2 separate regions of the Homo sapiens genome follow, and region 1 is linked to region 2. The links are contacts of gene promoters, found by promoter capture Hi-C in human tissues and cell types (Jung and others, 2019). All regions are on one chromosome and are shown on one strand. The core of a region is centred on a gene start or on the middle of the fragment in contact, and the rest is flanking DNA. Distances in the headings are between cores, read along the strand shown.

Region 1 (6,099 bases), core at 3,368-5,867, 340 kb after region 2:
TAAGATGATTATATACAGAGTGATCTATTTATAATGAGCCCCAGCTCAAGCAGTATAGCTTTCAGTTGGCCTCATTTTATATAAATCTTTCTTTGTTAATTAATGTGTCTTATCCCAGTGTTGCAAGGAACATTTATGTTCCCGAATTGGACAGGAAGGAAGCAAACCACACCCAAGGTGAAGGCTCCAAAATCTTTAGAGTCAATATGAATGTAATAACCGTTTGAAAACAAAGTTTAAAGCTGGGTTTTGTGCATATTTTAAACTAAGGAAGTTGTACAACAGAGTCCACAAGAGAGTAAAAAGTGATGTGATAATTAGGCGGCCATGAATTAACCCCCTGGTACTTGCAGCTCTGTACTATTTTTAAAGACCTCCTTCTCACCTCCTAAGATATTTTGGACATGCAAAATGCCTAATGCGACTAATAAGGCACCTAGCATGAAAGTTAATTAATGAAAATGAAAACACGAAAACTCAGGTTATTTAGTAATAAGGGCCTGGAGCCAGATCCCAATTAAACTACTCTTGTGGCGAAGGGAGGGATCAAAATGCCCAATAGGTTCCATCTGGCTGCTTCTGTGGGTCAACGTAGAGTCTCACGTCCGTGTCAAATTAGCTTTTCCACCCTCTTCTTTCCCTTGCAGTGAGAAGCTAAAGGCAGTCCTCCCCACACTGTACTGGGGAACTCCCAGGCTCTCCCACTCACATGTAAGGGGCTTGGCGGCTAAGAAATCCAGCTGGAAGCGAGCGAGCATGATTTGATTCACCCGCTCTTCAGAGTCCAATCCCTTTTGTCATTCACTCCACTGGAGGGGCCCCCTAAACCTCCAATCCCGTTTGTACCCCACCTAGGAGATCTGATAATGGTCCTGGCAGAGCTGTGGCTTTTCGTAACTTCTGGCAGGGGCCTCGCTGACCCATAACATGACGACACACATGATTTCTTCTCATACTGTCTTTGTAAATTGACCATGGCTAACCTTGCTGCCCTAATCAGATCAATCAGAATAACATTTTTTTAGCTGCTGCACACAGGAAGCCTCCTGGGCTGAGGCATAACTCAGAGTCAGGCTGGGATACAGAAGGCAGATTTTTGAATTTCCAATGGTCTCAGGTTTCCTTTGCTTTTATCACAGTTGGTGAGCTTTGTAAGGTCCGTGTTTACAGCCATGCAAATTAGCCTCAGCTGGAGGGAAATCAGGTCAGGTCTAAATGAAATGAAGCTCTGGGTCAAAAGTATTTTATCAAAAATTGGAAGTGTGGCCATAGCACTGGGGTCCAGCCAGACTATCCTAGGAAGTAAGTGGACAGTTTTGTCTGGTGTAACCTGAGCTCCAGGCCTCTCGACCGTGGAAACTCTGCTAGGAGACGGAGGAAAAAATGGTGGAGGGCCACCCCAGCACAACGGGGGCTGGCCAGTTCCACCACTGGCTGCTGCCGCCAAATGCATTTCTGTTATGTAAGGACAACTGCAAAGAGAGAATACTGTATACCGGAAGGTGGGAACATTGTGGTTTGAGTCTGGTTTGCAGTATATCCCATGCCGCTCATTGACTAGGTAAAAATCTAAATTCACTGTTTCAATCTTACACACACTCAGTTTAAAAATGTATGTGGGAACGTATCCACATTCAGCTAAGTTCTGAGATTTTGCATCTGGAAAGCATATTTGCAAATTTTCACTCCAGATGCCATGTTAGGTATAGAAGTTAAGGTCAGAGGGGTTACATGACTGGACATACAACAACTACAACAACTAATAGTTACCTTCAAGACGAGATCTCTGGCTGCTAATTTCCACTGCAGTTTTCTCTATCATATTTCCAGTACTTCAATACCCCCACTACATAAAAAACTTGGTTTGTTTAAAAATAACTCTCCAATATATATACCTTACATTTGGGGGATTATTAAAATCAGAACAATTATTTCCTGAACCCCCATGTACCTATGGCTCATACAATATGCTACTGATGGTTTGAGACAGCTCTATCCATCTGATTAGGCCTGGATCTGAGCGCTAAGATATTGCTCAATGTGTAATACCCTCATCTATCTGCCTTCTAAAAATAAAATGAAAGTTGGCAGATCTTGAGTGTCTTCATCTGCAAAGAAGTCATGACCAGATCCTTGGAATTCATATAATTAAAGTTTATCTTTTGACAGATGAGAAACCTGAGATCGGAGAATTTAAAGGACTTGTTCGGGATTCGATATTTGGTTAGGGTCAGAGTCAGAATTAGAAATTATGTTTACTGACACCAAAGCTGGGCACTTTTTTCACTATACAATGACCAAAAAATAAAATTCAGTCTTGGCCAAGTGAATTTAAAGTCAGAACTTGCAGTTAAATGCAGACGAATGCCCATTTATCAAGTAATTAACAACACAAGGCTGGGCACGGAGGCTCACGCCTGTAATCCCAGCACTTTGGGAGGTCAAGGTGGGCGGATCACTTGAGGTCAGTAGTTGGAGACTAGCCTGGCCAACATGGTGAAACCCCATCTCTACTAAAAATACAAAAATTAGCCAGGCATGGTAGGTGTGCCTGTAGTCCCAGCTACTCTGGAGGCTGAGGCATGAGAATTGCTTGATGAACCTGAGAGGTGGAGGTTGCAGTGACTAGGCAACAGAGTGAGACTTTTTGTCTCAAAACAAACAAAAAAATAAGCTGTGGGGTTGTTGCTGGAAACATTCCTTTGCTCTTTAGAACTATGTGGTACTACGCAAGTTGCCCAACCCCTCTAAACTCCAGTTTTCTCATGTATAAAACAGGAACAATAATAGGAACCGTCTCACTGGGTTTTTGATCAAATTAGTTAATATATGACAGGCACTTAACCAAAATTCCTCATTTAGCAGTGGCACTACTAGTGATATCTTTATTTTTTAATCTCCACTTGAATGACATCAAATAAATCCAAGGTCATTGAGACTTCTCTGTTCATATTAAGCATGTGCCTGTGAGGGCATGTGCAGGGGCTGTTCTGACTATCACATACATGGGAGATGTGTGTATTTTGCAAAGCACTTACAAGTTCACCTTCAAAAGCATCCATGTGACCTGGACTTGCAACCGAAGTATACATATATGATCTTTCCCTATTCTTGTTACATCTTCACATACTTCTAGCTTGGAACTGAAGGCCAGAGGACTCACTATCACCATCAAGGTCCCAAGCACAGGCGCTCAGCCTCATCCTGTTGTCTAGCTCCAACCCCGTAACAGAATCTCAGAAAATGGCCTGGATTGAGGATAAATGAATGAGATTTGGGAAAATATAGGCGAGACTTCAAAACTTCCCTCAACGAGAAGATAAATATTTTTTAAAGCATAAATATTTAGAATGGTTCTCTCATAGCATATCCTGTACTTTTTTGTGTTTTCCAAACAGATAACCCCAAATCTATATTCAAATAAACTTTTGCTTTTCACTCTCTTCCGATATGGAAGATTTTAAAGATGTGTGTGCGTGTGCGTGTGTGTGTGTGTGTGCGTGCGCGCACGTGTCTGTGTGTGTGGTGAGAAAGGAATTCCAGAATCAGTCCCAAAGACGCTAACTCTAATATTCCATATATTTTTATACTGCAATCATTCATTCTAAGCACTGGAACCATGGCTACTAATGATTTTTTTTCTGCTAATACCTTCAAGTCTTTCTAATATGCAATTGACTCCCAATACTCTGTGTGGGTAATTTGCTGTGAAATTTGGCCTCATGGTCCACAATAGAGATATGAGAAGACTAAAGAGAGAGCTGGGGGCAGTTACTCTCTTCCAGGTTCCTGTTCTGGGGGTTCTAGGATCCATGCAACTTTTATCTTTGTATCTCAGCATTCTAAGGTGCCCTCTTGTGGTGTGGGGTAGGAAAAGAGCATCCTAAATGCAGCTGGCTGGAGACACAAATCCAGATCAAGTTACTGTTGAACAGCCAACAAGAGAAACATGGTTGAACTCCAAGAATAATACTCAGATGCAGCATTCTGAAAGAATCATTGATATTCATATTTGACAAGTCCTAACCACTCTTTTTTTTTTTTAAAAAAATAAGCAAATAAAATAAACGTACAACTTCTGGGGCTGTCTCATTTCCAAATAAAATTTACAAGGTGGAATTTTTGTAAACTGGTGCCTGTCATGGAGCTCCTGTTTCCTTTCAGTAAATGCGGCCAGTCAGGAGTCCTTAAACTGAAGAACAGGAAAGCCCTGATCATTCCAGATATCACTCAAGAAATCGGGACAGAGCGCTAGTTTAGGCCCCCAGGTCATATATTAGTACAATCAACACATGGGCAAGTTATTTCACTCACTTCTATAGATGATAATCCCTAACCCCATTGCTCAGTTGTCAACACGTGAAAAACGTAAAGGGGTAGACAAACCTATCACCACCCTCATATAAAAAAACTAACGCACATTCCTTACACCGAGGGAGCCCAGAGAAATTATCTTTGTACACCAAAGCTGAAATAATATAAACTTGGAAAGCAATAGGTTATGAAAACCCTATAAATTTATGTTCAGGCTTCCAAACAATGTTCTTCTTCCACCCTTCTCCCCTCCCCAATAAACTGAGACATAAAGTCTGGGATTTGAGAATTACAGCTATGATCCTTGCCAAAGTGACCAAATTACAATCAATGCTGAAGGCTTTTGGCACCACAAAATTTCAACAGACTAGTATCTGCTGAACCATCACAACCCCCTTCCCCCAAAGTGTTTGGGGAATAGCCATTATCTCATTAATTCTTAAGAAATATCTATTAAAAAGACAGAGACAGAGAGGGAGACGGGGAGAGAGGAATCCTTTTACATATCTTACAGAAGAGGAAACAAACAGAGATGATTTATAATTTAGTCAGATCATGGCATCTCAAAAAAGGAGGAATATTGGCAGATCATGCTGATTTTCAGAATGTCGTTGGGCAAGTTTAAAACACAATTGGAAAGTTTATCAGAGCAGTTCTTTTTTTTTTTTTTTTTTTTTTTTTTTACAGGAACCAGGAGAAAGAATCACAGACAATGAAGGTGGATTTCTGGCTCCTTGTCAAGGTGCTGACCTACCTTGCTCAGGAACAAATGTCACTTAGAGACAGTGTAAATATGACATATTGACAGGGGAAACTCTTTATCTTTCAGTGAAAAGAGACTATACAAACACGATATGTACTACTAGATGTCCGAATGTATCACTAACGGAAGTTGTGGGATACTTCCATGAATATCAACAAACAAGAATAATCTAGAGATTCCCATTTGCAAATAGTTTTAGGAATTGACACATTAATGCTTTAAGACCTTAAAAACCTTGGGAATCAAAGATGTTTAAGAATTTCTTTCCAAAGCTTTCACATTAGTTCATAAACTAAGAGATTAATGCAAAGAATACTTAACGTACTCTTATAATTTCATATTATACTTATAATAACCATATTAAGGGGGTGTTATTCCCAATTTCGTAGAGAAGAAATCAGTGTGAGAAGGTTAAATGACTTTTTCTGAATGTTACGAAAGAAAAAAATAAGAGATAGTAGCAAGTGGTGGTGGTTCCATTGACAGCTGGTATCTTGAGCTCTGGTTCTTAATTTGGTTACTGCCATGTTTGTCGTGGCAGAGTGGTCTAGTATCACAAATGAGAATGGCACCTATCTAAGTATGCAATATAAATTTGTAATAATTAGTAATAAATTTATTTTATTATAGCTAATATTTTAAATGGAATTGATAAGGTCAAAGAAAAACACCAGCTCCAAATCTATATATGCCTTTTGCTGGAGTTACATAGAAAGCACATCTTTTTACTCAAAGATTTGGCTTCCTATTGGAAGACTCTGAAGAAAACCATGGATAATTACACAATGTAGGAAATACTTTGGATATGCAGAAGTGTGGCTATATTTTGTTGATGTTTTTAATAATGGCTACTCTCATTCATAAACTTCAAATAAATCACCCGAATAAAAGTTGATACTATCACCAAGGTGGCAAGTTACCATTTAAATAAAGGGGAAATGCAGACACATGCTGATGAACAAGTGTTCATCATCATCAATGTCTTCCCAGTTAAAAGTGTACAAACCCCTACAAGTCACTTT
Region 2 (6,433 bases), core at 1,493-3,992:
AGAAGTTGCAGTGAGCCAAGATAGAGCCACTGAACTCCAGCCTGGGCAACAGAGTGAGACTCCGTCTCAAAAAAAAAAAAAAAAAAACTACACTTTGATAACATTTCCCACATATCGATTTAGCAAACATCTAGGAGTTTGACAATTCATTCTATTGGAGAGGCTGCAGAGAAACAGGAAATGCTGCTGGTGTGAATACAAAACTGCACAACCCCTATGAAGGGGAATTTGGCAGAATTAAACAAAATAACATGTTCTTTTACCCTTTGACCTAACAATCCCATTTATAGAAATCTATGCTAAAGACCCACTGGCAAAAGCATATTATATATGCACAAGGAAACTTTTGTATAGCAAAAGACTGGGAATAGCCAACATATCCACTAGTAAGGGCCTGGCTAAATAAACTACAGTACATCCATATATAACCAAAAAGAATAATTATGCCCAGTTCATTTAAAACACAGTATCTTGATTTTACATCCTTAGTTGGATACAATTTTAGAAAAAAGGAAGTACATGCAAAGTTAAACTTCATTTATCTGTTAGCAATATCTCTATTGTTATTCTGTTTTTATTCTTTATCCTGTTATTGCTATTGTTGTGTTTATATACCTGTGAATATAGGTAGATGAAGCAAATAACCATTATGTTAATATTAATATTTATTAATAGTAACATTAATAATAAGGCAATGAAAAGAACCAATATTTTCATTGCCTCCTTGTGTGTAGGAAAAAAGAACCAATATTTTCATCTTAAGAGAAAGGAAGGGCCGGATGTGGTGGCTCACACCTGTAATCCCAGCACTTTGGGAGGCCGAGGCGGGTGGATCACGAGGTCAGGAGTTCAGGACCAGCCTGGCCAAAATGGTGAAACACCGTCTCTACTAAACATACAAAAATTAGCCGGGCCTGCTGGCAGACGCCTGTAATCCCAGCTGCTTGGGAGGCTGAGGCAGAGAATTGCTTGAACGTGGGAGGTGGAGTTTGCAGTGAGCCGAAATTGTGCAACTGCACTCCAGCCTGGGCGACAGAGCGAGACTCCATCACAAAAAAAAAAAAAAAAAAAGAGAAAGGAGACGAAAAACAAGAAGAGCTCAGCTTTAAAAAAGGATCACGACGTAGAAAAAGACACAACACTGAAGATTGTCATGGGTCTTTAAGAAAAGGAAATTTGAGACGGCTAAAACGCCGAACAGTGTGGAGTTTGGGGAAGAGATGTGGCTAAAGACAGCGTAAGCAATTTTTTAAAGTTATGTCTGAAGCAAGAAGAAAAGACAAGGAATAGGTTCAGTTTCATCTCTGATACACCGTTTCTTGTTAAAATTGATGTTTTTTTCTGCAGGCATTTGCTTCCTGAATGATGGTCCCACTCAGCCATCCACCTATACTTTCTACAAAGTCAATTTATACTGATTCTTCAGATCAGTTAATCACTGGTACGTTTCCCCTCCCCGGTCAAGGATCTTTTATTATACGCTATCATAGAATCATATTCCTTTCCTTAGCGCACTTCTCTCAACTGATAAGTGCCGCCATTAATGTACTTACTTGATAAATATATGCCTGCCTTTCCTCTTCCAGGGCCGAAACTGTGCCTGGTTTTGCTCATCATTCTATAGTCTATAGCACGAGTTCAATAAACAGTTGTTAAAGCAACATATTTAACTTACATTTTGTTCCCATCTCTTCACTCAGAGACTTTTCTTTGGATTGGGAAGGGTAAAATATCCGAAGATTTGAACTCCAAAAGAAACAAAATGATTCTATGCAAACGTTTCCTACTTAAAACTCATTCATTGGACAAATATTCACTTAGTCCCTGGCACTATTTGGTAATAGGAATACAGGAGTGCATATGGCAGATAAAGTTCTGTTGCTGCCCTTACCAAGTTTCGTGGGGGTGAGATGTGGTGTTAGTAAATGCATACTATTTTGTCTGTATTTAAATCGAGTCCAAATCTCTCGCTCTACAGCCCGCCTTGGGATGTTTCTTATATCCCAAGAAACAGAATATTTTGATGGGATCGCTGATGTTTCAGACTGCAAAAGCAGCTCAGGGCGTTTGCAGTCGTGCAAGTCAACAAGATAACCGTCTGGACCGGAAGCTGGGCTCCTCCCGGTCTCCTAACGCCAAATCCAACACCAAGCTTCTGCAGCTGCCACCTCCCGTAGACTTCGCATTTCTTCCGCACTCTCCTCTCACGACGGGTCTTCTTTGTTGTACTTAATTTCCTACGCAATAAGATTTCAGCATGACCATCAGTCCCCCAAAGACTAATTCCCACAGAGCCGAAGTTCCCACCAAGGGCCGAGGGTTAAGGTTACTAAAATCAGCGTTTCTGAATCCTGTCTCAAGTTGTCTCATCTGGGCTTCCGTAAGAACGGTTTCTTCATAAGAGGGCCTTCAGCGACAGCCAAGCTCGGAAAAGAACGGGAATAAGTTGTCTTTTATATTTCCTCAAATACTGTGAATGGTCTGAGGCGCAGGTCAGGTGTATTTAAAAACCTTTAAACAGTATTCCCCCGCCCCAAAAACTGGCCTTGAAGGAACAAGTGAAACTCATCCTGCTTTTCATGTTTGCTGGGTTTGCCCGTTACACCCCTTCGCCCGCACTTATCTAGACAGGCAGCTCTCGGCCACCCTCCGGGGTCCTGATTTTGAAAAGAGGAGTGGACCAATCAGATGTGGAGCGCTGTTTCGCGCTGCCATTTGAGCCTGGGCTGAAACTGCGGGTGTGACCCCCCCGTGGTGGCTCTGGGTGTCTGCGGAGGAGCTGGGGGCGGAAGCATGAGGCTAACGGCTTGGCTTCAGTGAACGCACCGGGATGTGCAGGCCGGGAGGTAGAGGCAGGCTGATGGGGGAGGGAACGAGCAGCCTGTGAGACGGGGTGACGGCGGCTACCAGCCCGGGCGGGCACCGGGACTGGAAGAGTTGCCTGAGCAGCCGGCTGGTCCGGCGGCCAGGCTAGGGCGGGGGCGAGCGCCCAGTTGAGCCTGCTGGGGCTGGAGGAGCGAGAAGGGTTTTCTTCACATTTCAGAGCGAACCAGACGGGGACAGTAAGGTTTGGAGGAAGGGGGATCGTTGGAAGTAGCAAGAAGTGGAGAGAATCTGGCAATAGACGAGAAACCGAAAGAATCAGAAAGAAGTCTATGTGAGTAGCTGAAAGCATTGGGTGACCAGAAAGAAGGTCGGTGTAAGTGAAGGAAGAGTGAGGTGTGGCTGGATCAAAGGGCTAAGAGAAGCGGGTCTGTGTAAGTGGATGTGAGTGAGGATCAAGGAAAAGCCGTGGAAGTGGCCGGGGGTCGGGGCCGCAGAAGTGCCAGACGGGGCCGGAAAGCAGCCGAGCGGAGTTCAAATTTGAGAGCGTTTGGAAATTGGAAGACTTGGTGGCGAACGAGGGTCAGGACCTGCATCCTGCCTCAGAGAGTTATCGACGTATCCGGAATGTGGGATCAGAGGCTGGTGAGGTTGGCCCTGTTGCAGCATCTGCGGGCCTTCTATGGTATTAAGGTGAAGGGTGTCCGTGGGCAGTGCGATCGCAGGAGACATGAAACAGCAGCCACGGAAATAGGGGTAAGTTCTGTGAAAAGGGATTTAGGTTTAAAAGAAAGGGCACACCCTTTATCATCACTTACTACCAGATCGTGCTAAAATGTTCACTCTGTGTATCAAAAAGAATGGTTAGGTGTGTAATTCAGTTCAGATGGTCGATTGCTGATATTTAAAAAGTGACATTCTTGTTTTTTTTCCCCCAAGGATTTTTGATCATTGAGAGAAAGTTGCAGGATTTTCCAACTTCAGCACTATTGACATTTTGGATTAGATAATTTTTGTTAGGGGAAGACGAAATGCTGTTCTGTGAATTGTGGGATGTTTAGCGGGATGTCTGTCTTTTACCCACTAGATGCTGGTAGCATCTCTCAGTTGTGACAATTAAAAATGTCTCCGGATATTGCCAGCTTACTGTATTTGGAACAGGTAGTACGTTGGGAGGGACAAAAACTCTACCCCTCCACCCTTGTTTTAGAGTAAGGTTGTAGAGGGACAAGGGAGACCAGTGCATTTTCTACATGAATCTGTAGATGAAGAAGTATGACAGAACATTAGAAATAGGCTTCAAATGATGACTGCATATTCACTAATTTGGGAAACAGATTTGCTGCTTGGCCATGTCATACTTTTGGGACAGTAAATTTTTTTTTGTATGAGTAAATTGAGAAGCCAGAGTGGAATAATTGAGAAGTTGTTGATGTTTTGGTGGTTGAAATAAAGGGATTTTGAATGAGATTTTAATAGCTCTGCCACATAATCAGGAATTCCATTGTGAAAAATAAGCTGAATGTAAAGCATTTTATTTTAAATTTATGTGCCTAATTTATATGGTACTTCCTAGTACTTGGAGACAAGCTAATAAAATTAATATACGTTGCTTTTAATAGTTTATGGTTTCTTAAAAAAAGTGCTTGGAGAAGAAAACCACTAACAAAAGTAATATGTGTGCCTCTTAATCGCTGATAAACTTTGGAGAAGTTATTTTTGTTGGTAGCAAATTAATGGCAATACATGTACTTACATTTAAAAAGCTACAGTGATTTTTTTCTGATTGTAAAACTGGCTTTCCAAGATCTCAAATGTAGCTGATTTTGTAAGTATATGGAAGAGTTTGTATATGGACTTTTTTTCACCCCTTTTCTTTTCTTTTCCTTTTTTTTTTTTTTTTTTGAGATGGAGTCTCCCTCTGTCGCCCAGGCTGGAGTGCAGTGGCGCGATCTTGGCTCACTGCAAGCTCTGCCTCCCGGGTTCACGCCATTCTCCTGCCTCAGCTTCCCGAGTAGCTGGGACTACAGGCGCCCGCCACCACACCTGGCTAATTTTTTGTATTTTTTAGTAGAGACGGGATTTCACCGTGTTAGCCAGGATGGTCTCGATCTCCTGCCCTCGTGATCCGCCCGCCTCGGCCTCCCAAAGTGGTGGGATGGCAGGCGTGAGCCACTGCACTCGGCCTTTTCACCGCTTAACAAGAAAAACTGTTGCCTGTTTTCAGAGTCAGATAGACCTGAGTTTGAGTGCTGTTCCACCCCTACTACATCTGTAAACTTGGGCTGCTTGTTTGATTTCCCTAAGCTTCAGTTTTATATATATAAAGTGGGAACGTATTTCTCCTTGGATTATTTAGGGATTTTTAAAAAGTGAAGCTCTTTATGTAGGCCTAGCACAGTGCGGGTAACATGCCACTTCTTCATCTAATGATAGTTGTCATATCATTGGTCTGCCTCCTAATTGGTAATCATGCCATATAAATTCAGCTAGAAACACTTATAAGAATATTCTAATGAAGAAATATAGAAGATCATTGTGTTAGGAGATCTAATGGGATAGTTTGTTTGAAAACAATTTCTTTAGCCGACTGGTGTTTGTTAGCTAACTGTAGTTTTAAGTTTTAAAAACATTTTATGAGATTAAATTATAGTGGTTACTTGTGAGGCCAGTTATTCTAAATAATAAGACTTAAGGAAAAAAACACGCTGAATTCTAGTTATATATAGCAGAAGTAGACTTACCAGCTTAAGTATCTGGTTTATTTTTACATTTGGTTTGGCTGCACAGTATCAAGAAAATTCTGATTTACCCAATAAAGGGGTTGCCCATACTAACATTTTTTAAAATAGTTCAGCTTAAAATGATGATCATAATATTAACAAATATTTTTTGAATGCTTACTGTGTGTCAGACACTGATACAAGTGTTTTGTATGTTTTAATTTATTTAATTCTTCCTACACCTCTATGACTTAGGATCTGTGTGAGGATACCGAGGAACAGAATGTTAATTTGATCCAGGTCACTCAGCTGTTAAGCAAGAGTTAAGATGTAAAGCCTGGCATTTTTGTGTGTGCGATGGCTCACGCCTGTAATCCCAGCATTTTGGGAGGCCGAGGCGGGTGGATAACGAGGTCAGGAGATCGAGACCATCCTAGCTAACACGGTGAAACCCCCCCCCCCCCGCCCCACGTCTCTACTAAAAATACAAAAAAATTAGCCAGGTGTGGTGGCGGGCGCCTGTAGTCCCAGCTACTCGGGAAGCTGAGGCAGGAGAATGGGTGAACCCGGGAGGCGGAGCTTGCAGTGAGCCGAGATTGCGCCACTGCACTCCAGCCTGGGCCACAAAGTGAGACTCCCTCTCAAAAAAAATACACCTGTCATTTTTGCCTTCAGGAGCCTACTCTCTTAAGCACTTACTATACTATACTGTCTTTTCAGCTTACAATATTTGTAAATTAATTGGAGCCAGGTGCTTGAAAGGGAATTAGTAAAATTTTGTTACTGTGTTGCGTCATTGACAATGCTGAGTGGTTTTTATTGTAAATATAAAGTTAAATATAATGCTCATAAAACATAAATACTTCTTGGTTGATAACTTGTGACAT

What was found. The method cuts DNA at HindIII sites, captures the fragments that hold promoters and counts their contacts. A contact is called where the count stands out against the background at its distance.
Region 1: a fragment that was not itself captured here is called in contact with the fragment with the promoter of ARHGAP11A in region 2 in 1 of the 25 tissues and cell types used here (lymphoblastoid cells).

The regions. Positions count from the first base shown.
Region 1 is chr15:32,952,329-32,958,427 of GRCh38, forward strand. All of the region lies in intron 9 of FMN1 (formin 1), which reads right to left. Among named protein-coding and RNA genes, the nearest start is that of GREM1-AS1, 240 kb to the left of the region's middle. The HindIII fragment of the contact is 8,182 bases long and covers 527-6,099 here.
Region 2 is chr15:32,612,762-32,619,194 of GRCh38, forward strand. ARHGAP11A (Rho GTPase activating protein 11A) reads left to right here and starts at 2,743. Exons shown (of 12, transcript NM_014783.6): 1 at 2,743-3,579. The coding sequence starts at 3,451. It overlaps ARHGAP11A-SCG5 (ARHGAP11A-SCG5 readthrough), which reads left to right and starts at 2,715. Exons shown (of 14, transcript NM_001368319.1): 1 at 2,715-3,579. The coding sequence starts at 3,451. It overlaps ARHGAP11A-DT (ARHGAP11A divergent transcript), which reads right to left and starts at 1,985. Exons shown (of 3, transcript NR_135833.1): 1 at 1,676-1,985. The HindIII fragment of the contact is 9,261 bases long and covers 543-6,433 here.